Regions from separate parts of the Homo sapiens genome. Here all the other regions are linked to region 7. The links are contacts of gene promoters, found by promoter capture Hi-C in human tissues and cell types (Jung and others, 2019). All regions are on one chromosome and are shown on one strand. The core of a region is centred on a gene start or on the middle of the fragment in contact, and the rest is flanking DNA. Distances in the headings are between cores, read along the strand shown.

Evidence for each region. Contacts are between HindIII fragments. The study calls those that stand out against the background at their distance.
Region 1: a fragment that was not itself captured here is called in contact with the fragment with the promoter of GUCA1B in region 7 in 2 of the 25 tissues and cell types used here (lymphoblastoid cells and thymus).
Region 2: a contact is called between a fragment that was not itself captured here and the fragment with the promoter of GUCA1B in region 7, in 4 of the 25 tissues and cell types used here (IMR-90 fibroblasts, dorsolateral prefrontal cortex, hippocampus and 1 more).
Region 3: a contact is called between a fragment that was not itself captured here and the fragment with the promoter of GUCA1B in region 7, in 1 of the 25 tissues and cell types used here (H1 embryonic stem cells).
Region 4: a contact is called between a fragment that was not itself captured here and the fragment with the promoter of GUCA1B in region 7, in 2 of the 25 tissues and cell types used here (mesenchymal stem cells and spleen).
Region 5: a contact is called between the fragment with the promoter of TFEB here and the fragment with the promoter of GUCA1B in region 7, in 2 of the 25 tissues and cell types used here (pancreas and spleen).
Region 6: a contact is called between the fragment with the promoter of USP49 here and the fragment with the promoter of GUCA1B in region 7, in 1 of the 25 tissues and cell types used here (mesenchymal stem cells).

The regions. Positions count from the first base shown.
Region 1 is chr6:42,651,024-42,655,204 of GRCh38, reverse strand. UBR2 (ubiquitin protein ligase E3 component n-recognin 2) reads right to left here. Exons shown (of 47, transcript NM_001363705.2): 24 at 3,134-3,182; 25 at 2,560-2,714. Among named protein-coding and RNA genes, the nearest start is that of PRPH2, 69 kb to the left of the region's middle. The HindIII fragment of the contact is 4,700 bases long and covers 108-4,181 here.
Region 2 is chr6:42,593,013-42,597,267 of GRCh38, reverse strand. UBR2 (ubiquitin protein ligase E3 component n-recognin 2) reads right to left here. Exons shown (of 47, transcript NM_001363705.2): 4 at 2,964-3,077. Among named protein-coding and RNA genes, the nearest start is that of UBR2, 31 kb to the right of the region's middle. The HindIII fragment of the contact is 7,676 bases long and covers 1-4,255 here.
Region 3 is chr6:42,633,541-42,637,511 of GRCh38, reverse strand. It overlaps UBR2 (ubiquitin protein ligase E3 component n-recognin 2), which reads right to left. Exons shown (of 47, transcript NM_001363705.2): 14 at 1,966-2,094; 15 at 318-501. Among named protein-coding and RNA genes, the nearest start is that of UBR2, 71 kb to the right of the region's middle. The HindIII fragment of the contact is 3,846 bases long and covers 318-3,971 here.
Region 4 is chr6:42,483,051-42,486,801 of GRCh38, reverse strand. No RefSeq gene overlaps it. Among named protein-coding and RNA genes, the nearest start is that of TRERF1, 33 kb to the right of the region's middle. The HindIII fragment of the contact is 5,855 bases long and covers 1-3,751 here.
Region 5 is chr6:41,733,305-41,737,363 of GRCh38, reverse strand. TFEB (transcription factor EB) reads left to right here and starts at 1,756. Exons shown (of 9, transcript NM_001271944.2): 1 at 1,756-2,014. It overlaps PGC (progastricsin), which reads left to right. Exons shown (of 9, transcript NM_002630.4): 9 at 360-653. The coding sequence ends at 512. It overlaps MIR10398 (microRNA 10398), which reads left to right and starts at 3,754; the gene lies at 3,754-3,810. RefSeq lists silencers at 1,598-2,067, 2,108-2,637, 2,768-3,207 and enhancers at 3,858-3,967, 3,864-4,059. The HindIII fragment of the contact is 30,918 bases long and covers 1-4,059 here.
Region 6 is chr6:41,894,030-41,897,763 of GRCh38, reverse strand. It overlaps USP49 (ubiquitin specific peptidase 49), which reads left to right and starts at 2,389. Exons shown (of 8, transcript NM_001286554.2): 1 at 2,389-2,440. RefSeq lists enhancers at 1,992-2,181, 3,116-3,630 and silencers at 2,231-2,523, 2,312-2,551. The HindIII fragment of the contact is 16,047 bases long and covers 1-3,734 here.
Region 7 is chr6:42,192,742-42,197,030 of GRCh38, reverse strand. It overlaps GUCA1B (guanylate cyclase activator 1B), which reads left to right and starts at 2,075. Exons shown (of 4, transcript NM_002098.6): 1 at 2,075-2,417. The coding sequence starts at 2,211. The HindIII fragment of the contact is 9,949 bases long and covers 1-4,289 here.

The DNA of each region.
Region 1 (4,181 bases), core at 1,208-3,707, 460 kb before region 7:
TGCCCGGCCTTGAAGTACTAATTTTTATTAAATGAAAAGACTGAGGTTTATTTTCTAACAAACAATTATTGTCAAGAAAAACAAAATTTTCTACTTCAATGAGGAAGAAATTTCAATTGCAAATCCTCAGGGTAAGCTAAAATTACACCAGCTGTGACCAGCAATTCACATAATATGTAAGTTTTATTCTATACCTATACTACAGACTTAAAAAAACCTTCCAAGAATTAGTGGTCAAGTAATTATAAAGCTAAACGTATCCCCCATGTAATTATCCAGTCTATGACACTACCTAATTTCTCTAAGGACTAAATCTTCATCATCTGAGAAAGACAAACTTTTATCTCTAATGCCTTATCATTTATAAACTTTATAGTTCTTCAGTGTATCTCACAAAATATTCCTGACCAGACTTCTAGAGACTGTATCAACCTATTTGTTTTTTTACTGCTCTTATCCCATGCCCAAGTTTTTTTGTTTTTTGAGACGGAGTCTCCCTCTGTTGCCCAGGCTAGAGTGCAGTGGCACAATATTGGCTCACTGCAACCTCTGCCTCCCAGTTTCCAGTGATTCTCCTGAGCCCTCCTGAGTAGCTGGGATTATAAGCATGTGCCATGACGATTGGCTAATTTTTTTATTTTTAGTAGAGATGGGGTTTTACCATGTTGTACAGGCTGGTCTTGAACTCCCGACCCCAAGTGATCTACCCGCCTTGGCCTCCCAAAGTGTTAGGATTACAGGGGTGAGCCACTGTGCCGGGCCCACACCCCAGATTTTGAAGGAGATATGTGTGTGATGTCTCTGTATCTTTCCCTTCACATGGGATGACTGTGGTTGTCAGAGACTTGGAAGAACTAGGTGACATAAAGCAAGTGTACATGTAAGGTAAATATTGTTCACACCTCTTCTCTCCATTATTTCCCACAAATCTTTTGTTCATGTAATGCTGACAGTACACGACAGCTAGTACAGCTGTACTAGTAGTGAGCTAGTACACCACAGCTCCATGCTTTTACACTTTAAATATGCTTATAGATAAATAGGAGGGCATTATAAGAATACACACATCTTAGCCAGTGAGACAAAAAGAAAGAATGATAGCTACTCAGCCTCCCGAGGAGGGCTCCAAAATTTGAATCTGAATCCTGGTTTTACTGCTTTCAAGCTATTAATATATACCCTAAGGGAACGCCTCTGAGCCCAAGTCATCATCTTTAGCCTTGGAAAAACAAAGCTTCCCTCTAGAGTTCTGAGGATTACAAATACTGTATGCAGAGTGCTTAGCATGGCCAGGCACGGTGGCTCACGCCTTGTAATCCTAGCACTTTGGGAGGCCAAGGTGAGTGGATCACCTGACGCTGGGAGTTCGAGACTAGCCTGGCCAACGTGGTGAAACCCTGTCTCTACTAAAAATACAAAAAATTAGCTGGGCTTCGTGACAGGCACCTGTACTCCCAACTACTTGGGAGGCTGAGGCAGGAGAATTGCTTGAACCCGGGAGGCAGAAGTTGCAGTGAGCCAAGATCACACCATTGTACTCCAGCCTGGGTGACAAGAGCAAAACTGTCTCAAAAAAAAAAAAAAAAAAAAAAAAAAAAGGGCTTAGCATGGAATAAGGCATAAAGTAGGCATTCTATTTAATGAATAATTGTTATATCACTTAGTAGATTAATATGGGAAGTTAATGGAACCTCATTGAAACTTGGCTTCCTCATCTAACAATGAGAAAAAAGTTGTATCTATTCATGGGGTGTTGTGTGAATTCAATGAGATAGTGTACGAACGGCTTACATTAAAACTATAAAGTAAAATACAAACAAGGGGCTGGGCATAGTGGCTCACGCATGTAATCCCAATACTTGGGGAGGCCGAGGGGGGAGGATTGCTTGAGTCTGGGAGTTTGAGACCAGCCTGGGGAACATGGCAAAACTGTTTCTACCAAAAATACAGAAATTACGCAGATGTTGTGATGCATGCCTGTAATCCCAGGTACTTGGGATACTGAGGTGGCGGGATCACTTGAACCCAGGAGGCAGAGGTTGCAGTGAGCCAAGATTGCACCACTGCACTCCAGCTTCCTGGGTGACAAAGCTAGATCCTGTCTCAAAAACACAAAAACAAAAATAACACAAACAAGGTTCCAGACTTGCCACTTAACTAGCTATAGGACCGTAAGTCTATGAGTGTCAGTTTCTTCAACTACAAAATAAGGATATGGATGATTCAAAAAAAATTTTTGTTTTGGAAAATAATTAGATTAGAAACATATATAAAAGATAACACATTATATCAATATCAGAATACTACATATATAAAGACAAGGACCAATCTAGGAGAGAACAACTGCCCAGTGGGACTGAGGTAATAACAACCATGTGGTATAAAAAAATCTGTCTGGCACTTGTTTTTACTGTCAGACACAAAAGCAGTAACAATATATTCAAGTTAGGAAAACACAATACATTTCGGCCTAGTTTTCCTGTGTATAGATACAGACAAGAATATTTTGCTTGTACTATAAAATACTAAAATATAAATAATAAATGTCTTCAAACCTACCCTTTGCAGCATGGACTCTGACCAGGCATATCCATTATGTTCCACAGCCCATTGCAGAATTGTTCCCATGATGCACAACATGACATCTGACTGCAAAATGTTAACCAGGCTTGCAAACAGAGGGCAGAATGGAGGCAACACCGGAGGTGGGAGTGCTGAAAATACAGTTGTTATTATTGGTTTCTTTTACAGAACATGCTTTAGAAACTATCTCTTTGTTACTTTTGATAGTTTTAACTCAAAGAATATTCATTAACACACACCTTAAAGCTATTATTTTACATTCTCAAGGTCAAATGCATAAAAAGAGCCACGAAAGTAGCAGCAGTACAGAAGAAAGTCTATCTTTTCCCCTAGAAAGGTCTTAAGATCTGAGATAACATCAACCCAGAGGACTTAGCACAAACTATTTCTGTGTTAACATATTTATTATTCCTCTGAATAGGAGGTTATTCACTAGGAAAGCTTACATTTAAATATTCATTCCACCAAGGACAATCATCATAGTTAACAGAAAACAATGTTTAACAAGCAAAAAAGATGGGCAAGACATTTTCAGAAAGATTAAAAATACCTGTATCTTCTCTATTTTGTCTTTTCAATTTCCGTTGCGCTTCTTCTGCCTAATAAAAAATAAAGTTATTTGGACCGGGAATTAGTAATGCCCACCACCACACCTGGTTAATTTTTATATTTTTAGTAGAGGTGGGGTTTCACTATGTTGGCCAGGCTGGTCTTGAACTCCTGACCTTGTGATCTGCCCACCTCAACCTCCCAAAGTGCTGGGATTACAGGCATGAGCCAATGTGTCTGGCCAAGGATGAACATCTAAAATCAGAAAATAACACAACAGAGGCCGGGGCGTGGCAGCTCACACCTGTAATCCCAGCACTTTGGGAGGCCAAGACAGGTGGATCACCTGAGGTCAGGAGTTCGAGAGCAGCCTGGCCAACGCGGAGAATCCCCATCTCTACTAAAAATACAAAAATTGGCTGGGCGTGGTGGCACACACCTGTAATCCTAGCTACTCAGAAGGCTGGGGCAGGATAATTGCTTGAACCTGGGAGGCAGGGGCTCTAGTGAGCCGAGGTCTGCACTCCAGCCTGGGTAACAGAGTGAGACCCTATCTCAAAAAAAATAAAAAATAAAAAAGATATCTATCTTTAAGTTCTAGTCCTCCCCCAAACGGATACATCAAGGTTAATTTTTTTTTTTAACTAAAAGAATCTCCAAACGAGTTCTCTATTACTTTAAATTAGAAGGGAAACATGTACTTAAATAAGTACAAACTTATTTAAGTTTGAACTCTATGACTTCATCAAAAACTAAATAAAAGCTTTATGTTTAAGTTTTATTTAATGCTGTTTATTGAAAAACCATTTTAAGAGGAGACTGCTAAAAGGCAGATTTTTTTTTTTTTTTTGAGATACGGTCTCACTCCCATCATCCAAGCTGGAATGCAGTGGTGCAATCATAGCTCACTGCAGTCTTGACCTCCTGGGCTCAAGTGATCCTCCTATCTCAGCCTCCTGAGTAGCTGGGACGAGAAGTGCATGACACCATGCCTGGCTAATTTTTGTATTTTTAGTAGACATGGGATTTCAACATGTTGGCCAGGCTGA
Region 2 (4,255 bases), core at 251-2,750, 400 kb before region 7:
TTATTCTTTGTCTAGTTCCAGGAGTATACATTCTCCAGGCAGGATTGTATGACTTTTGGCTAGGCAGGGGAGCTTGCTGGTGTCTTCTTAAAATTCAGGAAATTAAGTAGAGCTTGGACTGTTGGATAGCCATCCCACTAATGTATGAGGATAAAGCCAACAGAGCAAATGTAGGCAGATTCAAAACTTTTCATTAGAAAATTATTTTAAGTCTACTCTAACACAGGGATAAAAAAGGTAACAGAAGTCCTAAAGTATCTTTTCCAAATAAATGACATGACATTTACAGAACATAAAATTAACCATTTTAAAGTGAACAACTCAGTGGTACTTGGTACATTTATTATAACGTGCAACTACTACAATCTAGTTCCAAAACATTTCCATCACTCCAAAGTAAAACCCCTTACCTACTAAGCCATTTCTCTCCATTTTCCTCTTCCCCAGCCCCTGGCAACTACCAATCTGTTTTTTCTCTCTACAGATTTACCTATTCTGAATATTTCATATAAAAGGAATCATACAATATGTGACCTTTTGAGTCTAGCGTCTTTCACTTAATATGTTTTAGAGGTTCATGCATGTTGTAGCATGTATCAGTTCTTCATTCCTTTTTATGGACGAAAAATATTCCATTGTATGTATATTATCACAATTTGTTTATCCATTCATTCACTGATGGACATTTGGGCTGTTTCTACCTTTTGACTATTGTGAACAACATTGCTACAACATGTGTGTGCATGTACTTGCTCAACTTCGGTTTTCAGTTCTTTTGGGTATATATCTAGGTGTGAAATATACGGTAATGTTTAATATTTTGAGGAACAGCCAAACTGTTTTCCACAGCACTGAATCATTTTATATTTCCACTAGCAATATACAAGGGTTCTAATTTCTCTATATCCTTGTCAATACTTGTTATTACTTTAATAGTCATCTTACTGAGGGTGAAGCAGTATCTCACTGTGGTTTTGATTTTGCATTTCCCTAATGACTAATGATGTTCAGCATCTTTTCATGTGTTTGTTGATTATTCATATATCTTCTCTGTAAAAATGTCTATTCAAGTCTTTTGCCCATTTTTAAATTGGGTTATCTTTTTACTTGCTGAGTTGTAAGATATAAACTCTGCATACTAGATCCTTTTTGGATACATGGCTTGGATATACACACATATACTTTCTCCTGCAGTCCTAAAGTTTTATACCAGTGGTTTTTAACCTTTTTCTAAAGCACAATTCTTTTTTTTCAAATATATCTTTATTTGTCCTGTATTTCTACATACAGAACCCCAATCAACTATATAAAAATGGAGCTTCTCCAATAGAAGTGGAAAAATCTGGAACCTTGACCACTTGGCATCTTACTGTAGCAAATTACAGAACCCTTTCACAAAGCAAATGAAAAACAAAACATGTTTTCCATAGCACTGAATCATTTTGTATAAATTTTGATTTGTACATCAAAAGCTTTGGTCATTCTGATAAAATATATTTGAGACCTGTAGGATATGGGTACCAGGAAGAACTTTTTTTTTTTTTTTTTTAAAGACAGGGTCATGATCTTGGCTTGCTGCAACCTCTGCCTCCTATGGCTCAAGCGGATCCCACTTCAGCACCCCCAACCCAAGTGGCTGGGACCACAGGCACGTGCCACAACACCCAACTAATTTTTGTATTTTTTGTAGGGATGGGGTTTTGCCATTTGCCCAGGCTGGTCTCAAACTCCTGGGTTAAAGTGATCCACCCGCCTTGGCTTCCCAAAGTATTGGTATTATAGGTATGAGCCACCTTGCCTGGCTGAGGAAGGACTATTGATGTCCACTTGCCCCAAATCTATATCAGGCCTACTAACAATGTAGACGTACTTGAGTGTACCTATTCCCCTGCCATTTAAAAATAAAATCTGAAAGAAGGATCTTGAACTATACAACAAATTGTCATAAAATGTAGCAGAAGAGGGACTGCCACAGGTTGGCTAACGGATACAAGAACAAAGCTAGATAGAAAGAATGAGTTCTAATGTTCTACAGCACTATAGCATGACTATAATTAACAATTTACTGTATATTTTCAAATAGCTAGAAGAGCGGATGGTGAAGGTTTCCAAAACCAAATAATGTTAAATGCTTGAGGTGATGGATATGTTAATTACCCTGATTTGCTCATTACACATTGTATATATGTATCAAAATATCACACTGTGCCCCATAAATATCACGCTGTACCCCATAAATATGTACAATTATTGTCAATTAAAAATAATAAAACATAATCTATTGTAGCATACCATTGAAAGATTTAATCATTGTATAATTACAGTTAAGTGAGTTATTAGAAATATATGGAAAGTTTTTGAAGTTTTAAAAAAAGCAGCAGAGATTTAAGCATTTATTTTGTGGGACTCTACTATTCCATTACAAATCCATTTAAGAAAAATAATGCAGGATCAACAATTTGAAAAACACAGTAAGCAGTGGGAATTATTTGTACTGAGCTATCATCACTACACATGGTCCCATCACATAACCAATGATAATGGAAACCAGGAGATGATGATTGGGATTGGCTGTCATGTATGGTAACAGAAAAGAAAGCTATCTGGCCCCAAAAGTCTTTGTTATAATAAAGATATACAAAACTCAACTTGGTTAACTGGTCTACACATATGGGAAAAATAATCCTCTCAACCATAGGTTAGTACTCAAATAAACTTCAAGTATGCTTAAAACAAAACCCCAACCAAATAAAAAATCAGAATTAAATGAAATTTCCCAAATTTCAACTGTGTACTATTAGCAACCGTACAGCATCCACAAAATGCAAAGAACTTTCAAAGTAAACTAGTCACTGTCAATAGTGGAAGTACTATTTGCTTATCCATTTCTCACATCATCTAATGACTATTTCTCAAAATATTTCAAACTTGGGTTAAAAACAACTTTGTGAAAATGTTTTTACCTCTTCTTCCTCAATTTCAGAGGTGTTAAGTTCATGTTTTTGACAGTAAGGACCCTCTTTCCAGGCTTCAGTATCACCACAGTCACAGAAACCTCCACCTCCTGATGTTGTCATCTTGGAAAAAAATTGTAAAGTATCTTGTCAATAAATATTTACTGAGGGCTATCAGATAATAAATAAGAATATCAAGTGCTAAGGAAATACCATTGCTTAAGTGTTTAATTTCTTTGGAGGCATAAAATTAGATAAAATGCCAAACCTCTCAATGTTTTAAAGTTTATTTTAAATAAGCCTATAAGCTAATCTAAGTGATTTCAAAATAAAATAAGCTACTTTGTAATGTTTGCCTACATGACTTCCTTAATTAGGAAAATCATGAGGATCACAAGGGTTTTCTTGCTGGGTTTTGGTTAAATTGGTATAATGCTGATATCTACGCTACAGGTTGTGATGCTATAAACACAATAGACTCAGGGGTTATACAGATTCCTCTAGTTGCTGTCTCCTAGAGTCTAAGGGTGCTGCATTTGCTTTGGAGAAATTAACCAACAAAGACTATAGAAATAGTTAATTTTTCTTCTCTAATACACCTTAAATAGCCACTCTTTGAAAGGACAAGTAATAGGGGCTCAGGAAATGCAAAAGTAGACTGCCTAATAAAAGCTTTTCACCACCTGCAATGTTCAGGAATTATTCATAATTCCTTAAGACAGGGCAATGATTTAAGAAATCTGGCATCACAGAACCAGAATTAATAATTGGTAGACTAGAAATTCTGCTTTTCTTAAAATAGTATGAGGAAGAGCTTACTAACAGGTATTAGATACAGCAAATTTTAGAATAAGCCCTATTATATTCTGCCCAAAGTAAGTATTTGTGTTATATATCACAATATAATTAATGTAACCCTATAAATGACAACTATTCCCAGGGAATGCAAAGATATATGCCAAGAAATGTGGGTAGGAGTCATTTGGAAAATGACACGTGCTTGTTTCAGTTACCAAACACAGGCAGAACAGCTTAAAGGAAACTGGGCCTCTTTTACTGATTTATGAGACTAATGAACAGACAAGAATATAAGTAGCCCAATTTTGTAGCTGGGTTTTTATTATTTTTATTTTTTATTTTGGGATGGAGTCTCGCTCTGTCGCCCAGGCTGGAGTGCAGTGGTGTGATCTCAGCTCACTGCAACCTCCGCCTCCCAGGTTTAAGTGATTCTCCTGCCTCAGCCTCCCGAGCAGCTGGGATTACAGACATGCGCCACCATGTCTGGCTAATTTTTGCATTTT
Region 3 (3,971 bases), core at 991-3,490, 440 kb before region 7:
CTGTAGTTGTCTAAAGAAGCACTATGGTATAACGGCTATAAACATGGCCTCTGGTGCCAAACTTCCTCATAATGCCAACTGATTCTTTCTTGTTGTGTGACTTACTAAGCAAGTCACTCTCTATGCCTCTGTCTTCCCATCTATGAAGCAAGCTTAATAATAATACCTACTTCACAGGACGATGTGATGATTGGATAAGTTAATGATGTAGAAATCACAGAATAACATCTGGCACAAAGTAAGTATTCACAGATATTAACCACAAACAACAATTTAAAAGATAATTTTAGGGTTTTATTTTAGGGGAAATGCTTTACCTGCAAGTAAGCGAGAAACTGGGAGGTGAATGCTAACTTTTTCTTGGGAAACACAGTATCTGATAGTTTCCACTGAATGTCCACAAATGCTTAGTGTGATTGGCTGTTCACCATCAGTATAACCACCATGACACTGCATCAGTACAGCGAGACATTTCTTGTAAGCTTCGATTAACACTTTTTCCTAAAAAAGAGGGTTTTTCTGTAAGTTACTCAAAAGGTTGAGTTTTTACAACATTGAATAAGCACCTTAAATTCAGTGAGTAAGTACCTCAAATAACAATATAGGCAAAACCAAACTCAATCCTCCCTCCCAAATTTGGTCCCTCTTCCAGTGTCCCTCATCTCAGTGAATGATACATTTACTCATATAGTGCAGAAATCTAGAAGTTATTCCAATACCCTCCTTTCCCCCATTCCCCATTGTCCAATCTATTACCAAGCTGGCAACTTCATCTTCTAAGTTTCTCTCAAAACTTGCTACTTTTCTCTATCTCTAGTAACTCCAAGGCATTGCCAAGCGTCTCTCTATTAAATTCCTGCTTTGACTCTTGCCCCCTTCATCCATTCTCCATACAGAGCAATTTTAAAAAACATGTAAATTGAATCATGTCACTGTATGGAAAATGGATAAAGGGGGCAAGAGTTGAAGCAGGGAATTTAATAGAGAGATGGTAATCTCTAAAGGCTTCCCACTTCAATTCAAATAAAATGCAGGCTGAGTGTGGTGGCTCACGCTGGTAATTCCAAGACTTTGGGAGGCCGAGGCAAGCAGATCGCTTGAGCCCAGGAATTCAAGACCAGCCTGGGTAACACGGCGAAGCCCTGTCTCTACAAAAAATAGAAAAATTAGCCAGGTGTGGTGGTGTGTGCCTGTTGTCCCAGCTACTTGGGAGGCTGAGGTGGGAGGATCACCTAAGCCCAGGGAGGTTGAGGCTGCAGTGAGCCGGGATTGCACCACTGCACTCTGGCCTGGGCAACAGAGTAAGCTGTGTCTCAAAAAAAAAAAAAACAAAAAAAAAAACAACCATGGCCAAGGCCCCGAAAAATCACTCCTGTGCCCAAATCTCTGTTCTCTACTTCTGTGCTCCAACCACAGACCTTTCTATAGCTCCTAGGACTACCCTAGTCCCTGTCATCACAGACTATAATGCAGCTGTCTTCTCAGTCAGGAATATCATTTACTCATTGTTCCATTAACTTTTACAGATTGTTCAGACCTTACAGAAACCTCCCTAACCTCATAATGTATACAGGCTCTCATCTAGACTTTATCGCCAAAGGAAGGCCAAAATAATTTTAAGACACAGGACAAATGTACCAATAATAAAACTTTATTTTTGAATAAATTTAGAAACTACCATTTTTATATCCTCAAAGTCTAGAAGGGATTATGGAAAAAAAACAAAGATAGTTACATTAGGGAAGAGACAATCTGGATTATTTCTTTCTCTATTTTTCAAGTTTTTCCTCAGGCTGTAGAATTTTAAAATTTTACTGAGTTTATAGGTGGAGAAGGAAAATACGCTGTTTAATGAACTAAGTATCACCACTATTTTCTCCAGATCTCCTTGAAATTTACTTAGGATTCTGCTTATTCCTCCCTCTTCCACTTTCCTCCTATTCCCCGCACCCAGAAGAAACTCACATCTGAAGCACACCAGTCCTGCATCATTGAAATGACATGTGTTAATTTCATTTGTAGTGTGAAGGCTGCTTCCCACTCTGGTTCCATTTCAATATGTTGTCCTACTTGACGTGTAATTGGATCCATTCCCTTAACGGAAGTGAAAAAATTATATATGAATGAAAATAATAGTTGTTCTTTTATATGGAAACCTAAGAAGTAATGTAGGAGAAATATATATTGATTATAAAAACATAGAAGGTATAAGTTTTAACAGGAAACTTCAAGTACTATGAGAAATAATAGCTTTTAAAATTATGTGTTTATATAACATTCTCTAAAATATAAATTTAGAAATCCCAATAAACACATTATTTCAGAGGTATCATCTAAGATCTGTTTTAGGCAATAAAATACTTCAATATTTCACTGCAATAATCCTTCCTTTTTAGCTCTATGGTCTATAGAAAAAATTGTTAAAAGAAATGTGACAAGCTTTTAAAATGTTATTGAATTTATAACTGTATTTTATAATAAAGTTTTAATATTATGTCCTAATATGCAATTAGAAGTTTTCACAGAGCCTGAAAGAAGGCAAAACAATAAATAGCTTTTAATTAAAATTACTGTTCAGAAACTAGCCTAACTATTCTAGTATGTCAGAACTTATTAAACAATAGAGAATACAGAATACTTCAAGTATCAAAAATGACCAAAGTAGCTATTGTTTTCACAGATACATGAAAAACATAGTAGTATTATAATAAACACCCATGAACTACCACCCAACCTAGGAACTAGAATGGTAAGTCAGGCCAGACATGGTGGCCCACGCCTGTAATCCCAGCACTTTGGGAGGCCGAGGCGGGTGGATCACTTGAGGTCAGGAATTCAAGACCAGCCTGGCCAACATGGCGAAACCCTGTCTCTACTAACAATACAAAAATGAGCTAGGTGTGGTGGCGTGCACCTGTAATCCCAGCTACTCGGGAGGCTGAGGCAGAAGAATTGCTTGAACCTGGGAGGCAGAGGTTGCAGTGAGCCAAGATCGCGCCACTGCACTCCCGCCTGGGCGATAGAGCAAACCTCCACCTCCAAAATAAATAAATAAATAAAAATAAATTCAAACAAATAAAAATAAAAATGGTAAGTCAACTTTGGTCATTCCTTTTCTTAAGAAAGCCAGGTGGCTACTAAAGAAATCATAATAGTACTTGCTCAGATTTTTAGAGACGTCACCTATCTTCTTACAGTTATAACTGGTTAAATATACCTGTTCGTTTCTACTTCTAGATTCTGTTTTGTATATAGGGATGTTTCCTAAAAAGAGAATTAAACAGGGGAAAAAGGTCTACACTGTATTATATAAATACCACATGAAGGAGAGAAAAAGAAACATGGAAACATTAAAAAGCAAAATCAAAAACCACTACAGTTTCTCAAATAACTTGACTATACTTCCAAGAAAGCATATTAAAAAAATAAACTTGTAACCTCTAAAGAAAGAACATTAGTGGAAACCAAAGAAATATAAAAGTGGCTGGCGCAGTGGCTCATGCCTGTAATCCCAGCACATTGGGAGGCCGAGGTGGGCGGATCACTTGAGGTCAGCAGTTTGAAATCAGCCTGGACAACTTGGTGAAACCTCGTCTCTACTAAAAATACAAAAAATAGCCAGGCATGGTGGCAGGTGCCTGTAATCCCAGCTACTCAAAAAGCTGAGGTCAGAGAATCACTTGAACCCAGGAGGCGGAGGTTGCAGTGAGCCAGGATTGTGCCATTGTACTCCAGCCTGGGCAACAGAGTGAAAAACTATGTCTCAAACAAAACAAAACAAAACAAAACAAAAAACAAACAAAAAAACAACCCCAAAAACTGGCCAGGTGCGGTGGCTCATGCCGGTAATCCCAGCACTCTGGGAGGTTGAGGTGGGTGGATCACTTGAGGTCAGGAGTTCGAGACCAGCCTGGACAACTTGGTGAAACCCTATCTCTATTAAAAATACAAAAAATTAGCTGGTGTGGTGG
Region 4 (3,751 bases), core at 553-3,052, 290 kb before region 7:
CATATATCAAAATATCACAGTGCACACTGTAAATACATATGATTTTTATTTGTCAGTTATACCTTAATAAAGCTGGGAAAAAATTATGCAATATTTGCTTTTAGACTTTTAGTATACATTTTGATATGTGTAATATGCACATTAAAATAAATATATATTTAAAAATAAAAATATTGTACTGAATAGAATATTTCATATTAAATAATAAAATAAAAATATGGCCGGTGTGGTGGCTTACGCCTGTAATCCCAGCACTTTGGGAGGCTGAGGCGGGCAGATCATGAGGTCAAGAGGTCGAGACCATCCTGGGCAACATGGTGAAACCCTGTCTCTACTAAAAATACAAAAATTAGCTAGACGTGGTGGTATGTGTCTGTGATCTCAGCTACTCAGAGGCTGAGGCAAGAGAATTGCTTGAACCCAGGAAGCGGAGGTTGCAGTGAGCCGAGATCGTCCCACGGCACTCAAACATGGCAACAGAGTGAGACTCAGTCTCAAAAAAAAAAAATTATATATATATATATATACACACATATATATATACATATATATATACACATATATATACACATATATATATACACATATATATACACATATATATATACACATATATATACACATATATATATACACATATATATACACATATACATATATATACATATATACACATATATATACATATATACACATATATATACATATATATATACATATATATGTAAAATGTAGGTTTGTATCATTTTTTTCACATAATGTTATAACATAACTATTTTGCTATATTAGAGCTCTTTTGGCTGGGTGCGGTGGCTCACTCCTGTAATCCCAGCACTTTGGGAGGCCGAGGCGGGTGGATCACCTGAGGTCAGGAGTTCGAGACCAGCCTGGACTACATGGCTAAACCCTGTCTTTACTAAAAATACAAAAAATTAGCTGGGTGTGGTGGTGGGTGCCTGTAATCCCAGCTACTGGGGAGGCTGAGGCAGGAGAATCGCTTGAACCCAGGAGGCAGAATCGTACCACTATACTCCAACCTGGGCAACAAGAGTCAGACCCCATCTCAAAAAAAAAAAAAAAAAAAAAGAACTCTTTCATAAATATAATTTAAAATAAACACATAAAGATTCCATTTTGTCAGTGTGCCATAGGGAACATAGGGAATGAATTGTTCTAAAAGTCTGCAATCCTTTATCTGAAACTTTTAGGACCCAGTGTGTTTTGAAACTCAGAATTTTGGGGCCTTGTGTGGTGACTCATGCCTGTAATCCAACACTTTGAGAGGCCTAGGTGGGAGGATTGTTTGAGCCTAGGAATCAGAGACCAGTCCTGGCAACATAGCGAGACCCCATCTTTACAAAAAATCAAACAATTAGCCTGGCATGGTGGCACATGCCTACAGTCCCAGCTACTCAAAAGGTTGAGGTGGGAGGATTGCCTGAGCCGGGGAGGTTGAGGCTACAGTAAGCCATGATTGTGCCACTGCACTCCAGCCTCAGTGACAGAGTGAGAACCTGACACACACACACACACACACACACACACACACACACAGAATGTTTGGATATTAGATAAATAATATTGTAATTTTACCATATATTACTCAATGCCCTCTTTGGGGTGTAGGGCAATACCTTGTAATCCAACTTGATTATTCTGTAAAGAAAACATGTAGATATTCACGCTAAATGGAATAAATACCTGAACTGAACTGAGTAGTCTTATATCAGGTCAGTTTGTGCTGCCAATTGTGTTTGTACCAAACTTAAGAAAAAAATCTTTTGGTGTTCAGAGTGTTTTGGATTTCTGGATTTAGGGATGAGTGATTGTGGACATGTAATAGAATTTGATGCTTGATAAGGAAGAGTGGGAGAAACAGATGGGCTGGATTGTCTGTTAGCAACCATTCTGGGGACCGAACATCAGCTTTTCCAGGGGTTGGAAATGTGGGAAGACCTAGAATGCTAGCTAACCTAACACCAACCTGAGGATGAAGACAGTGCACAAATAAGTTCAGGCCAACTGAAGTGCAGGGAAACAGAGCTAGAGATACTGGATCAGTCTTAAACTTGACTACCTCTGGAATTGTAGTGATGACAACCAAAATATTTCATTATAATTTAAACTAAATTGAGTTAGAGTTATTTTTATTGGGGAAAAAAAGGCATCCTGATAGCTGAGCTGGAAGCTTGGGAAAGATATTTCTCCAAATCCCTTGCCAGTAGATCCCAGGAAAGATTCTGCCAATGAGAAACATTTACAGAAGATCTGGAAGGCACAGCATCAGAAACCATAATTTTTCCTCCAGCTGTGAGGAGCAGATATGTGACATTTGACAGACAGGACATTCAGCAGCAGCCTCTGAAAATTACCCCTGTGGGTGCTGTAGGCATCAGTGGTGATTCCCTTCAGTTCCTCATCTAGATGACAGGAGAAACTTTTACATTCTTTGAAGTCAACCATGGCATGATTATGAGAGCTCGTGGCACTTTTTCTAGATTTCCAAAAGTTGAAAAATGTGAACTTTTGAAATTGGAATATCAGATCAATGGACATAATTTTAAAGAGAGCAATTCTATTATTAATCAGGATGAGAGCTGTTTTAGGTCAGAAGGAAAACATTTTCAAGCTTTAACAAATAGCTGTTTAGAATTTATCATGTACTATATCTGACACTGCTGGAGACACCATGATTTAACAAGCTGGTCTGCCCTTAAGGAGATGGACGAGAGAAGAAGTGGGTTTGACTATATTAAACAACAATGGCTTAAACATAAAAGGCTTATTCATTTACAGAAAAGAAGTCTAGAGGAGATAGTCCGGGAATGTAAGAGTGGCTCTACAAAGCCATTGGATACTGGGCTCGTTCCATCTTTCTCCTCCATTGTTCTTAGTCAGTGGCTTCCATCCTGAAGTTTACCCGATGGTCCAAGACAGCTTTCTTAGCTCCTTTCTTCATCCCTCTTCACCTCAGGCAGCAGGAGTGTGAAAGCAGGAGAGGACAAAATGTCCGGCCTTCCTGAAGAATCTGCTCCCCTTAAGCAATCTTCCTGTAAGTTCTAATGTTTTTTAGAACTTATATCTTTTTTTTTTTTTCAGATGGAGTCTTGCTCTGCCACCCAGGCTGGAGTGCAGTGGCACAATCTTGGCTCACTGCATCCTCCTCCTCCCGGGTTCTAGCAATTCTTCTGCCTCAGCCTCCCACGTAGCTGGGATTACAGGCGGGCACCACCACACCCGGCTAATTTTTGCATTTTTAGTAGAGATGGGGTTTCACCATGTTGGACAGGCTGGTCTTGAGCTCCTGACCTCAAGTGATCTGCCCACCTCAGCCTCCCAAAGTGCTGGAATTACAGGCATGAGCCACTGTGCCCTGCCAAGAACTTAACATCTTATTGATCAGAATGTATTGACGTTACTGTACTTGGCAAGGGAGATTAGAAAATGCAATTTTTATGTGGTTGTTTGCCACCCTGAATAATTGGGATTCTGTTACTAAAAAGCAGGGAAGAATGAATTTTTGGATGGCAACTTATAATTTCTGCCTAAAGAAGTTAGAATTTACCTGGAGAAATAAGAACCTGTAGGCTTGAAAAGACAATTAATAATGTATTTAAAGGGCCAGGCAGTGAGCGGCAGAGAAGTTTGGTGGAGGAGGAGAAGGTGTCCAGGCCTCCCAAGAAATACTTCTTAGGACAACCAGGATTTGATCTCCCTTTTGAGGATGTGTAGAATTCATAGTTACAAAAAA
Region 5 (4,059 bases), core at 507-3,006, 460 kb after region 7:
TGAGTAACTGACTCAAGGCGACACAGCTAAGGTTTGAATTCAAGTTGGTTTGGCTCCAAGGTTTAACCACCAGGCTGATCTGCTCCAAATTGGGAGCAGGAGGGAGGTCTGTGGGAAGAGAAGTTTCCCATCATGGGGAGAGGAGACCCTGCTGAGGACCACGGCAGCCTGAATGTACCTGTTCCAGAAATCCTCCCACCCGCTCTGCTCTGGTGGCTCAGTTGGCCTATGAGCCCTCAAGGCAGAGACCCTGGCTCCCTCAGCTCTGCACTTGTGCTCCCAGCCCAGGGCTCAGAGCTGAGCAGGGCCCAGCTCATGTGTGGACAAATGAATGAGTGCTGCCTTTCTTTGTTGAGCAGAACAACGGCTACTGCACCGTGGGAGTCGAGCCCACCTACCTGTCCTCCCAGAACGGCCAGCCCCTGTGGATCCTCGGGGATGTCTTCCTCAGGTCCTACTATTCCGTCTACGACTTGGGCAACAACAGAGTAGGCTTTGCCACTGCCGCCTAGACTTGCTGCCTCGACACGTGGGCTCCCCTCTTCCTCTTGACCCTGCACCCTCCTAGGGCATTGTATCTGTCTTTCCACTCTGGATTCAGCCTTCTTTTTCTGGACTCTGGACTTTCTCTAATAATAAATAGTTCTTCTTTATGTTGGTCATCCTGTTGTTTTTGGAAGGGAGTTTTCCCTGAGTGGCTACAAGGTTTCCTGGTGGGTCACTGTGATTCTAAGAGAAATGGGACCTAAGGCATGGCTTGGGATGGGCTCTGTAACCCTCAGAGCTTAAAGTTCATACTTTTCCCCTGGAAAGGGAAGACAGTGGTAGCGCCATCATGGGTGGGTGGGTGGCGGGCCGGGGGAGAGTGTTCCTACTTGAGTCACAGAGAAATCGAGCCTATTTGCTGGAACCAACTCAGCAAGGGATCTTGTCCCTTTGGACTTCATCCCTGTCCTCCTCAGGAGCCTCTTAGCAAAAGATCCAGAAACCAGGAGCAACATTGTATGTGGGGAAGGAGGAGAGAGAGGAAGAAAAGGAGGAGGGGAAGGAGAAGAAAAGCAGGGGAGGGGCTGGGGGAGGAGACAGGGAAAAAGGGGCGGGGAAGAGGAGAAAGTAGAGAATGATGCCTCCGCACCCTGTGAACTTCCAACAAGGGAAGGTGACATGAAAGGAGCTCAGACAATTTCTGTCCAGCAACATGACAGCAAGCTCAGGCTGGTGAGTGGGGCGTGAATGTAGAACCCATAATGGGGGCAGGCTGCCTTCTACTGTCATATTTTACCCTGTACTTCGCCAGGCTCACCCTGGCCTTGCCCCTTATGATCGGGGCAGGGATAAAAGTGCAAGATCCAGGTCCTGCACCCTACTCCTGAAGAGAAGCTGGAATTTGCCACAGGTGGAGTTTCTATGGCAACAGCACACCATCTGGGACCCTCTCTTTCTTAGACTGCCGAAGGACAGCAGGCTGCAGGTTCCTTTTAGGGGGTCGGACAGGCTACAGAATGTATCTTAGTGAGCCCTGGTTTGGGACTTTACTGAGAGGAGAAAGAAAACTTGCAAAGAGGTAGAAGTGGATCAGAGGTTCCAAGTCAAGAGCCTCTTTCCCTGTAAGCCTTAGTCCGCTGAGCGGGACTACAAATCCCGGCGTGCCTAGCGGGACTGCAGCGAGAACTACGCTTCCCAGTGGGCGCCGAGGCAGAGCGGCTGGGAGGCGGGGCGGGTGCTGCCCTCTGCCGGGCGCGGAGGGAAGTGTGCGTGGAGTGACAGCCGGAGCCCGGGCGCCGGGCGCGGGGCTCGGTGACAGCGGAGGCGGCGGCCCGGGCGGGACGCAGGGAGCGGCCGCGGCGCCGACGGCGGCGGGAAGGGCGGACGGGGCGGGCCTCCCTGGTGGCACGGGGCCGGAGCAGGCCGGGAGCAGGTGGCGGGCACAGCTTGCGGGCCAGGCACCCGAACTTGCGACAAGTTGCCGGAGCCGCGGGGCGCGGGCGGCGGACAGATTGACCTTCAGAGCGAGGTGAGCGGGACCGGGGAGCGAGAGGCACGAGGAGGGCCCGGGACCCCCGACCCAGGCTCCCTGGCCCCTATCCCGTGGGTCCCGGAGACAGGTGGGAGGGTGGGGGATGCCGGCAGGAGAGGGAAGCAGGACCGTGCGCGCCGCCACCCACCCGCAGTCCGTCCGCCCCCGGGCGCCCAGCGCGTGGCCCGAGCGGCGCTGCCCGCCGAGCCGGGAGCCCCCTCGGCCCCTCCCTTCAGGCGCGGGCCGGGGGCGGCTTCTCCGCGACCTTATGTAACCGGGCGGGAGGGGCCGGGCGGGCATGGGCCTTCCCGGCCCGGAGCTGGGAGTCGAAGGGGCGGGAGGCGTGATGGTGAACTCGCAAGAAGTTTGAGGGACGCGCGGGCCCCGCGCCCACTCCCCCTCCACCGGACACGGCTGGGGCCGGCGATGCCTGAGAGGGGGTCGGAGGTAGGGGAGGTGTGCGGGGGCTGAGTCTGGCCAGGCCAGCGGGGGGAGTGGGAGGGCCAGAGCGGCGCCACGCCCCGGGGGCTGGGCTGATGGGGGGGCGGGTGGAAGTACCATCTCTCCCTCCCTTCCCGTCCCTTCCTCCAGCTCGGTCTCTTGAAGAAGCCGCCCCTGGCCCCGTCCCCTCGAGTCCCTGGGCAGTCTCTTTCTCCCCGTGGGTTATTCTATGACCCTGGGGAACACCAACCCCGGAGCGCTCCCTCCGTGCGCCCCGTTGTCTGCCTCCCCCCGGGTTCCCAGCTGCCTGCCCGCCCCCCGAGTTTCCCCCTCCCCCCGTCTCGGTCCCGAATCCCGGAAAACACGCCCCCTTCCCCCCGATCCCCCGAGTCCGTGCCGCCCACCCCTGGGCTGTCCCGACCAGCTCTGGCCCAGCGCGTCCGCTCGCCTCCTGGAAGGGAGCGGGCAGATGCCAGCTCGGCCCCCTCCCCGCGCGGGGTTCCGGCTTCACGCACGGCTGCCCCGAGCTGCTCCGGGCTGCGCGAGCAGGTTCGCGCCGCAGCCGCCTGGCGCGCCCCAGCCCCGCGCCCCGGGTGAGGAAGGGAGGGAGCCCGGGGCGGGGCTTGTCTGCGCGAACCCCGCTGGGCCCAGGCCCCCGCCCTCCGCTCTCCGCCAGCCCCTGGCCGCTGCGCCTTCCCCCGAACCCCCCTCAGCTCCAGCCGTCGTTCTCTCGCCTGTCTGTTCTGGGGACGGTTCAGCGCGGAGCTTCTGCACTCAACTTGAGCGCAGTTTTTGGCTTAGAGCTCGCTGGGGAAGTGCAGGTTAATTACTGCCCAGCTCCCATCCTCTGCCCTCCCCCCATCCCGAGTGAGGGGCTGCTTCATCCCTCAGGGAAAGGGACAAGACGGATGCAGGCCCCCAGTGACACCTCTGGGGTGTGGCCTCAGGCCCCTGCACCCGCCCTGGCCGAGATTCCATTGGCCCAGACCTGGCACTGTTGGGCAGCTGGGGATGAGGTTGGAGGCTGGTCTCTGGTTTCCTTCTGGGTGGACAGATGCGGATGCGCTCGGTTAGAACGCAGTTCTTGGTGCCACGACTGGGAGACAGTCCTCAGGCCCTCCCCTCAGGGAGCTCACTGTCCGGGGAGGGACAGCCAGCAATAGTTCCTGGCCGGCCAGGAGAGGCAGAGGCAGAGGAAGGGAAGGGTCAGCTGCCTTGAGGTCCCTGCCTGCTAACCTGACGGTATGCTTTCACCATGCCGGTGACCCCAGCCCCAGGACCACGAGCAACTCGCCTGGCTCCCTTCTCTCCGTCTGCCTCCTGGCCGCGGGGCCCGGAGAGCTGGGAGCCAGAGGGTGTAAATGAAGGGCAGAGCTGTTTGGGTGACTCCATGCTCTGCTTCTCCCCGAGGGAAGCCAATGGTGCTTACCATTTACAAGGCTTGTTACAGCTGCAGGGTTATTTTGTCCTCAACTCAGCTCTGGGAGACGGAGCCAAATGGGGACCCAGGTATCTTGGTTCCGGGTGCCCTGGAAGGAGTTCAGGGGATAGGGCAGGGGACACCCTAGGTGGGCACTGAATCTAGGGAGAGCCAACTGGGC
Region 6 (3,734 bases), core at 1,140-3,639, 300 kb after region 7:
AGACCTCTTAAATGAAACAGGTGGTTTTTTTTTTTTTTTTTTTTGAGACAGTGTCGCACTCTGTTGCCTAGGCTGGAGTGCAGTGGTGCGATCTCGGCTCACTGAAACCTCTGCCTCCCAGGTTCAAGTGATTCTCCTGCCTCAGCTTCCCGAGTAGCTGGGATTACAGGTGCGTGCCACCACGCCCAGCTAATTTCTGTATTTTTAGTAGAGAGAGGGGTTTCACCATGTTGGCCAGGCTGGTCTCGAATTCCTGACCTCAAGTGATCCACCTGCCTTGGCCTCCCAAAGTGTTGGGATTACAGGTGTGAGCCACTGCACCCATCCGGCCTGAAACAGGTGTTTTTTTACTGTAGCAGTGAAGAATACCTTGACCTCTAGCACAACTTGGTGCAGTTGCCTTGATTTGTGCTAAGGCAGCAGTTTTACCCATTGCTACTTTTGTATCATTGTGCAAATATCATCACAGTGACAATGCAGATATGTCTCAGTATTATTAGGAAAATCGTTTTGATCTCAGGCACCCCACTATCCCCCCAGCCCAAAGGGTCTCAGAGATCCCTAGGCCTTTCCAGGCGACACTTTTTTTTTTTTTTTTTTTTTTTTGAGATGGAGTCTCACTCCGTTGCCAGGCTGGAGTGCTGTGGCACGATCTCAGCTCACTGCAACCTCCAACTCCCTGGTTCAAGCAATTCTCCTGCCTCAGCCTCCTGAGTAGCTGGGATTACAGGCACACGCCACCACGTCCGGATAATTTTTGTATTTTTAGTAGAGACGGAGTTTCACCATGTTGGCCAGGCTGGTCTTGATCTCCTGACCTCATGATCCACCTGCCTTGGCCTCCCAAAGTGCTGGGATTACAGGCGTGAGCCACCGTGCCCGGCCTCCAGGCCACATTTTTGAGAACACTGATCTAATACATGCTCACATCACTGAGAAACTTTTCCTCCTGTATTGCTATTCTGGGAGCATCCCTTCCATTGGAAGTTTTAAGTGGCTCCCAAATTCTTCACTCAGCAAAAGCACCTTGTTATGGAACTAACATTGAATAAGTAACAATCTTTCTTCTCCAAGAATTTTCTTGGGGATTGTTGAGTAAGGGAATAAGACATATAATTAGAGTTATAATGTTAAGAATTCCTTAAAAAGAATTATGTTAACTGTGATGGACGACAAAGGGAGAGCTAAATTCTGAATCTAACTCTGAGGCCTTGAACCTCATGATAAATCCCGACCAAACCAAATTGAAACACTCCACTTCCTCTCCTTCTATCAAACCTCTTTTAAAAGTGCAAGTTGTTAATAAATTGCCTACACAGCGCTTGGTCCAGGCATTGTAGTTTCCCCCTTCCTATTGTGTGTGGTGTTCTTTTTTTTTTTTTTGTGCTTACCTAGTTCTCCTGTTTACAGGTGTGTAACTTGAGCCACTACTATAGCTAATGTCTGTTTCTTTTACTTGTCCTTATATTTAAATGTAAGTCTTTATCTGCCTTAGCTATGTGTTGGGTGTTGAAATTGTTGATCTTATTTTGGGAGACTCCCATCCCCTCCCCCCACTACCACCCCGCAAGTAGTTTCAAGACAGTGCACCTAGGAGACTGCTTAACCTAAGCCTTTTGTAGCTTAGGTGCTGTTCTGTTTCCCAATGGACCACTACCAAGTCAGTCTGGTTTATTTCCCAAGCCTTACAATCTGCTGAACTTCTTCAGTTCCGGCAGCGATCCTCTAACTTGTGGGGGATTTCCATAAAACAGCTGAATCTCTCTTGGGTCATCTGTGGCAAAAGCCAGACACGTGCTCACCCGCCTGGGAGCCAATAGTAACTTTTGCAAACGCTGCCTCCGGAAACCCCACGGTTTGAGGGCTGCTGCTTTAGGAACAACACAGAAATAACGTCTTTTAACAGAATAAAACAAAACATACGGACGGGATAGTGAGAAAGCCTTTGTCCTTCGCAGTGGGGAGAGGTGTTAAAGGTGAACCGAAAAGAGTATGGGAAACTCATGTAAAATACCTTTACAGTTCCCCGGGAAGAAGGGGGCGGAGATGGGCTCGGGAGCGTCTCTGGCCCTTTAAGGAGGAGGGACAGACATAAGAGTCTGTACCTTTAAGAGTCTCTTTGTCTGGAAACCTTCTTATTTACCCTCCTGTGCTTCAACCAAACTTCGACCAGCTATTCACAACGTCCCCCTACGCCGCCGCCCCTTACGCCAGGCTCAAAGCGGCCGCGCGTTTGTGGCTGACCCTAAACTTTGCGCCTGCGGCGCGAACCCTCGGAACGGGTGCCGGTGCCGGGGTCGCGGCCCAGCGCTGCGCCGTTGGCGCAATGCAGGGCCTGAGGGGCGGGGCTCCAGCGGGCGGGCCAATAGACGGGCAGGGGGCGGGGCCGTGTTCGGTTGTCTCGCGCCCTGGTGACAGCTCGCGCGTGCTGATGATGGCGGTAAATAGAGGGGGCCGGGGGAGGGGACGGAGGAGGTGGGGAGGCAGCAAAGTGGGTAGCTCCAGGGGGTAGGGGGAACGGGGGCCGGGGAGGCCGCGACGGCCAGGGAGCCCATTCTAAGACTCGGAGGCGGGGATAGGAGTCTCCGGCTCACTAGCCCTCCCCTTTAAAGAAGCAAAATCCTCACACACCGGGTGAGGGGCGACAAAGGCAGCGCGCGCCTCGCGGGCGGGAGGAGCGGCGGCAGGGGGCGGGACCGCGGCGCCGGCGGGCTGGGGGCGCCCGGGGCGGGGGCGGCGGGAGGCGAGAGCCGGGAGTCGGGGCGCGCGGGCGCCTTATTTTGGCGGGGTGGGCGACGGCTGGGTTGGGGCAAAAGCGTTGAAGGGAGAGGGAAAGGAAGGCTTGGAGGCGATGAGGGGAACCGGGTTGAGAATGAGATGAGGAGGATTAAGGGGAGAAAGGGTTAGAAGCCAGGGAGAGGAGGAGTGAGAAAAAGCCAGCCAAGGAGATAGGAAGGAGGCAAAAGCCAGGGTGGGCGTTAAGGAAGCCGGGCAGGGAATGAGGTTAGGGCTGGGGAAAGGGATCCTGGGGTTAGGTGTAAGAGCAGGGGTTTGAAGGGGAAATCTTCGTAGCGGGTGGTGTTGGGGTGAGGGGTACCGGGGTAAGTGTTGGAAGTGGAAGACAAGGAGGGGCAGAGCTGGGGTAATAGTTGGGAGTAGGAAAGAGAGAGTGATTAAGAGCCAGACGTGACGAGGGTGTGAACTAGTGCGGAGCGAGATGAGCTGAAGGACTGGGACCAACGGTGTGGTGGGAACTGCTGGCGAGGTTCTGAGAAAGGAATGGGTTAGTGGGTGGGCGATGGATGTAAATTCTGTAAAGTGAGGGAGGGCAAATGAGACCTGGACTGGAACCAGGTGGAGTCAGGAATAAGAGTGTGGTGGAAGGGCGAAAGGAAACAGATAAGAGATGGGTGTCTGTAGGACGATTCTGGGACCAGAAGAGCTGAAAGGAGACTAGAGTTAGGGTGTAAGAAGTGATGGCCATCTGGGACAAGGATAACTGGGTAATTACGTTAATTGAAGAGGTTCAGCAAGATCCAAGGTGAAAACAGTGAGGTAAAGAGACAGGGCTAAAAGCAAATGGTGAGAGGAGCAGGAAGAGATGGGCCCCAGAATTTAAAGGATGAGATGGGGAGTAAGGGAAGAGAGGGGGCTAAGAGAAGCTGGGGGAGTCCTGATGGATGTAGAACTGGGGTAGACTGCAGGGGGGTGGGAATCGAATGTGCGTGTTATGG
Region 7 (4,289 bases), core at 826-3,325:
GTACCTTTGAGGCCAGTGTATGGGATGGGCTGTTTATCCACTTGGAGGTCACAGTCACTGAAATGACTGACATGATGCTTTGAGACAAGCAGGGAAGTCACCAGTGAATGACAGTAATGAGGAGAAGTAAATAGTGGCAAGGAGTCAGATGTGGCTTCAAAGGGACTGGCCTTTTTTGGGGAGAAAAAAGTAAAAGGCCATTTGGAGGCAAGAGTTAGAAGCGAGGAGGACACTAGCCCTGTTATCTAGACCTTGAGGTGTGTGTGGGGGAGAAAAACCCACCACCACTTGAAAGGATGACAGAAGAAATCACATTTCTCCTTCAGGAATAGCAAGAAAGTTAAAAGAGCTTTCAGAGCTCAGTGACGTCTGGAGGCAGAGAACAGTGAGAGAGGAGGTCAGGCCTGGAGATGTGCAAAACAATTCAGGCTGAACACCCAGTGAGGGATGGGTAGGTTAAGGATAGATTCACTGGAACTGCTGCCTCTGAAGTCTTCTAGAAAAATGAGTGTCACTGGGCGTGGTGGCTCATGCCTATAATCCCAGCACTTTGGGAGACCAAGGCGGGTGGATCACTTGAGGTCAGGAGTTTGAAACCAGCCTGGCCAACATGATGAAACCCCATCTCTACTAAAAATACAAAAATTAGCTGGCTGCTGGGTGCATCAAACCAACATGGCACATGTATACCTATGTAACAAACCTGTATGTTGTGCACATGTACCCTAGAACTTAAAGTATAATAAAAAAAAAAAAAAGAAGAAAAAATAGCTGGGTGTTGTGGTGTGCACCTGTAATCCCAGCTGCTCGGGAGGCTGAGGCATGAGAATCACTTGAACCCGGAGGCGGAAGTTGCAGTGAGCCGAGATCACACCACTGCACTCCAGCCTGGGCGACAGAGCGAGACCCTGTCTCAAAAAATAGAAATTTAAAAAAAAAAAGCAAAGAAAAAGAAAAATGTGTGTCCCTGGTCTTTTGATTTCTTGGAGGTGTCATTTTTATGTTACATTAAAATAAGCATGAATATGTAATTGTTCAAAAGCAAATTTTACATGACCTATAATGTAAAAGTAAGAGCCTTCAAAGATATTTTAGGCCATGCTCCCAGATCCTTCTCACATGTTAGTATTTTGGAGGAAATGTGAAAAAGGCACTACCCCTAGGTCTTGTGTGAAGGGTTGGAGGGAGGCATTTGTAGTTTAAATCAGAAAGTGAAAAGCTCCCAAGATGAAAGGTGTAATCTGGAAAGGAGCTTCAGGGACCGAGTTAGCCTGGGAAGAGAGTTGCTCACCTAGAGCCCTTCCCATCATAGATTCTGCCTCTTTTCACTAGACCGTCTGAGGGGCGAGTCCCAGATCACCAGCAGATTCTGTTTTATGGCCTAGGACTTGATCTCACTTCCTCTCTGGATTTGAGTCTCCTGTCTCCAAGATGGGCCTCCCTGAAGCAATGTGAGGCCCAGCTAAAGAGATAGGGAGTGAGTGAGATGGGAGGATCCCAGCCTAGCACCCCGACTCTTTCTTCACTCTGCATCTCTCTGCTTACCTCTCAGTTTCTTCCCCTTCTACCTCTTCAGAGTCTACCAGGGCCAGCTTGGTTGCTTTGTTGACAAGGCTAAGGGAAGGAGTGAGGCTGGAGGAGTTTAGGCTGGAGGTCAGAACTTCCTGGGGAATCTCTTTTTTTTTTTTTTTTTTTTTTTTTGAGACAGAGTCTCACTCTGTCCCCCAGGCTGGAGTGCAGTGGTGTGATCGCAGCTCACTGCAACCTCTATCTCCCAGGTTCAAGTGATTCTCCTGCCTCAGCCTCCTGAATAGCTGGGATTACAGGTACCCACCACCATGCCCAGCTAATTTTTTGTATTTTTAGTAGAGACAGGATTTCACCATGTTGGCCAGGCTGGTCTCGAACTCCTGACCTTGTGATCCACCCACCTCGGCCTCCCAAAGTGCTGGGATTACAGGCATGAGCCACCGCACCCGGCCACCTGGGGAATCTTCTAATAGTCTTAGGGCAGCTTAGCTGGCCTGGACCCACCTCCCTTGCCACCTGCCCCCTGCACCGACTGATCATGTTCAGTCACCCAGGAGATGATGGAGAGGCTGATCAGGCCTCCTGGAAAGGGAGGAAGAGGGCCCTAGTTGGAGAGATCCATCAGCAGAAGCCAGGGAGGAGATACAGACCCTTGCTCCCTGATGCTCCTCAGGGCTAGCATGGGGCAGGAGTTTAGCTGGGAGGAGGCGGAGGCAGCTGGCGAGATAGATGTGGCGGAGCTCCAGGAGTGGTACAAGAAGTTTGTGATGGAGTGCCCCAGCGGCACACTCTTTATGCATGAGTTTAAGCGCTTCTTCAAGGTCACAGACGATGAGGAGGCCTCCCAGTATGTAGAGGGCATGTTCCGAGCCTTCGACAAGAATGGGGTAAGGCACCCTGAAGGGAAGGACCAGTGGCCAGTCCACCTGGCGCCTTCCTCCACAAGTGTCCTCAGGGAGAGCTCCCAGTTCCCCACTCCTCGGCTCTTTCTCTGCTCTTCTTTCCACTCCGTCTCTCTTTACCTTTTCTGTCTCACTCACCAAACCCTTCTGTCTCTTCTCTTCCTTTTGTCCCTTTCCATCTTCTCTGTCTCTCCTTCCCTCCCTCCATCTCTTAGCTGTCGGCTGATGCTCCCTGTGTCCTCTTCTTGAGAGCTGAAGGGCGACTGGCAGACAGTCCAGGTCCTCTCTTTGTGTATTTTTGACCAAGACTCTGCAGCCCAATGACCGGGTTTTCGCATCTGCCAGAGCCCCTGTCACTCTAAACACTAGGAGCAAAAGAGATGTTCTAAATGAGACAAGGTATCTTAGCATGGGCTATGAGCTCCCTCTTGTTGGGGTTCTTCTGAGACTGGTCAGATCCTCCCTGTCAAGAATGCTGGAAGAGGCTCCTGCATGTATTGGGAGACTGGGCGAATGACTGCAAAAGCCCCTTTCAGCTCTTCAAGTCCTGGAAGGTTTCATTAAATCATTCAGACTAGAGTTTCTCTAAGCCCACAATGTCACTAGCAGCTAAGAAGATAACACATCTTGTAAATGCACCAGGGGATTGAATTTTAAATTTCAATTCAGTTAAAAACCCCTTGATTATTTAAGGTTATCCAGTTCAGTGCCCTGGCAATCCTCAAATACCTCAAATACCTCAAATGCCCTGGTATTTGCCTCAAATACCAATTTAATCTGAAGAAAGTGTCAGTTCTCCATTCCTCAGTGCGTGGAGAACTTAGCTTTCTAAGCTGAATCACTGGGAATGCCACTTCAGGTCTCATCCTGTCGCTGGTACCAGTCAGTGCACGTCCCCACAGTGCCTGTCCCGGGACAGGAGGGTGAGGTCAGCACCTTCAATTCAACAGAACCTCCTTAGAGATGAACCCCATCGACCACCCCACAGGGCACAGAGCCAGTTTCGGACTTCTCAGCGCTCCGCCTCTCTTAGGTCTCCTCTGAATCAGCAGCAACCCTGGGTGGGAGGGGCAGACTTTTGTTATTCCAAATTAAATGATGAGAAAGCTGGGCAAAAGGGAATGAATCGATTTGCCCAAGGTCTTAAGTGCTCCTGCCTAGAAGGCAGGTTTTTTAAAGAGAGAAGATGACTTTTTAAAATAATTGATGTTTTTTTAAAATGTAAGAAAAGTAAACAAATATATCAGGTCATAAATAATAAGACTCATTTAAGTCCATCAATCTTCCCCAGATTCATCTAAAAATCAATACGATCATGATTCAAGATCCAAAGGGCTGATTAAGCCCCTAGGCATATAGTTGTACTCCTTATACCTCATCTCTTCTTATAAATCGGCATATGATGTTCATCAATGTTTTTTCCTTTTTGAATAACTTTTTAATTTTACTATGATTCTAAATTTACAGAAGAGTTATAAGAATGATACAAGTAACTCCCATATGCAATTTATCCAAATTTCCCCAGTTATTCACATTTTATATCATTTACTTTATCATTCTGCCTCTCTCTGTATACATACATATATATAATGTATCCTATAAGTATATATACATATACATGATACATAATTTATACATATACTTTTTTTAAGAGAAAGCTATAGATATCATGCCCGTTTATCCCTAAGTATTTCAGTGTGTATTTTCTTTTTTGTTTTTGAGACAGAGTCTCGCTCTGTCACCCAGTGGCATGATTTCAGCTCTTTGCGGCCTCTGATTTCCCAGGCTCAAGGGATCCTCCCACCTCAACCTCTCAAGTAGCTGGGATTACAGGTGTGCACCACCATGCCTGCTAAT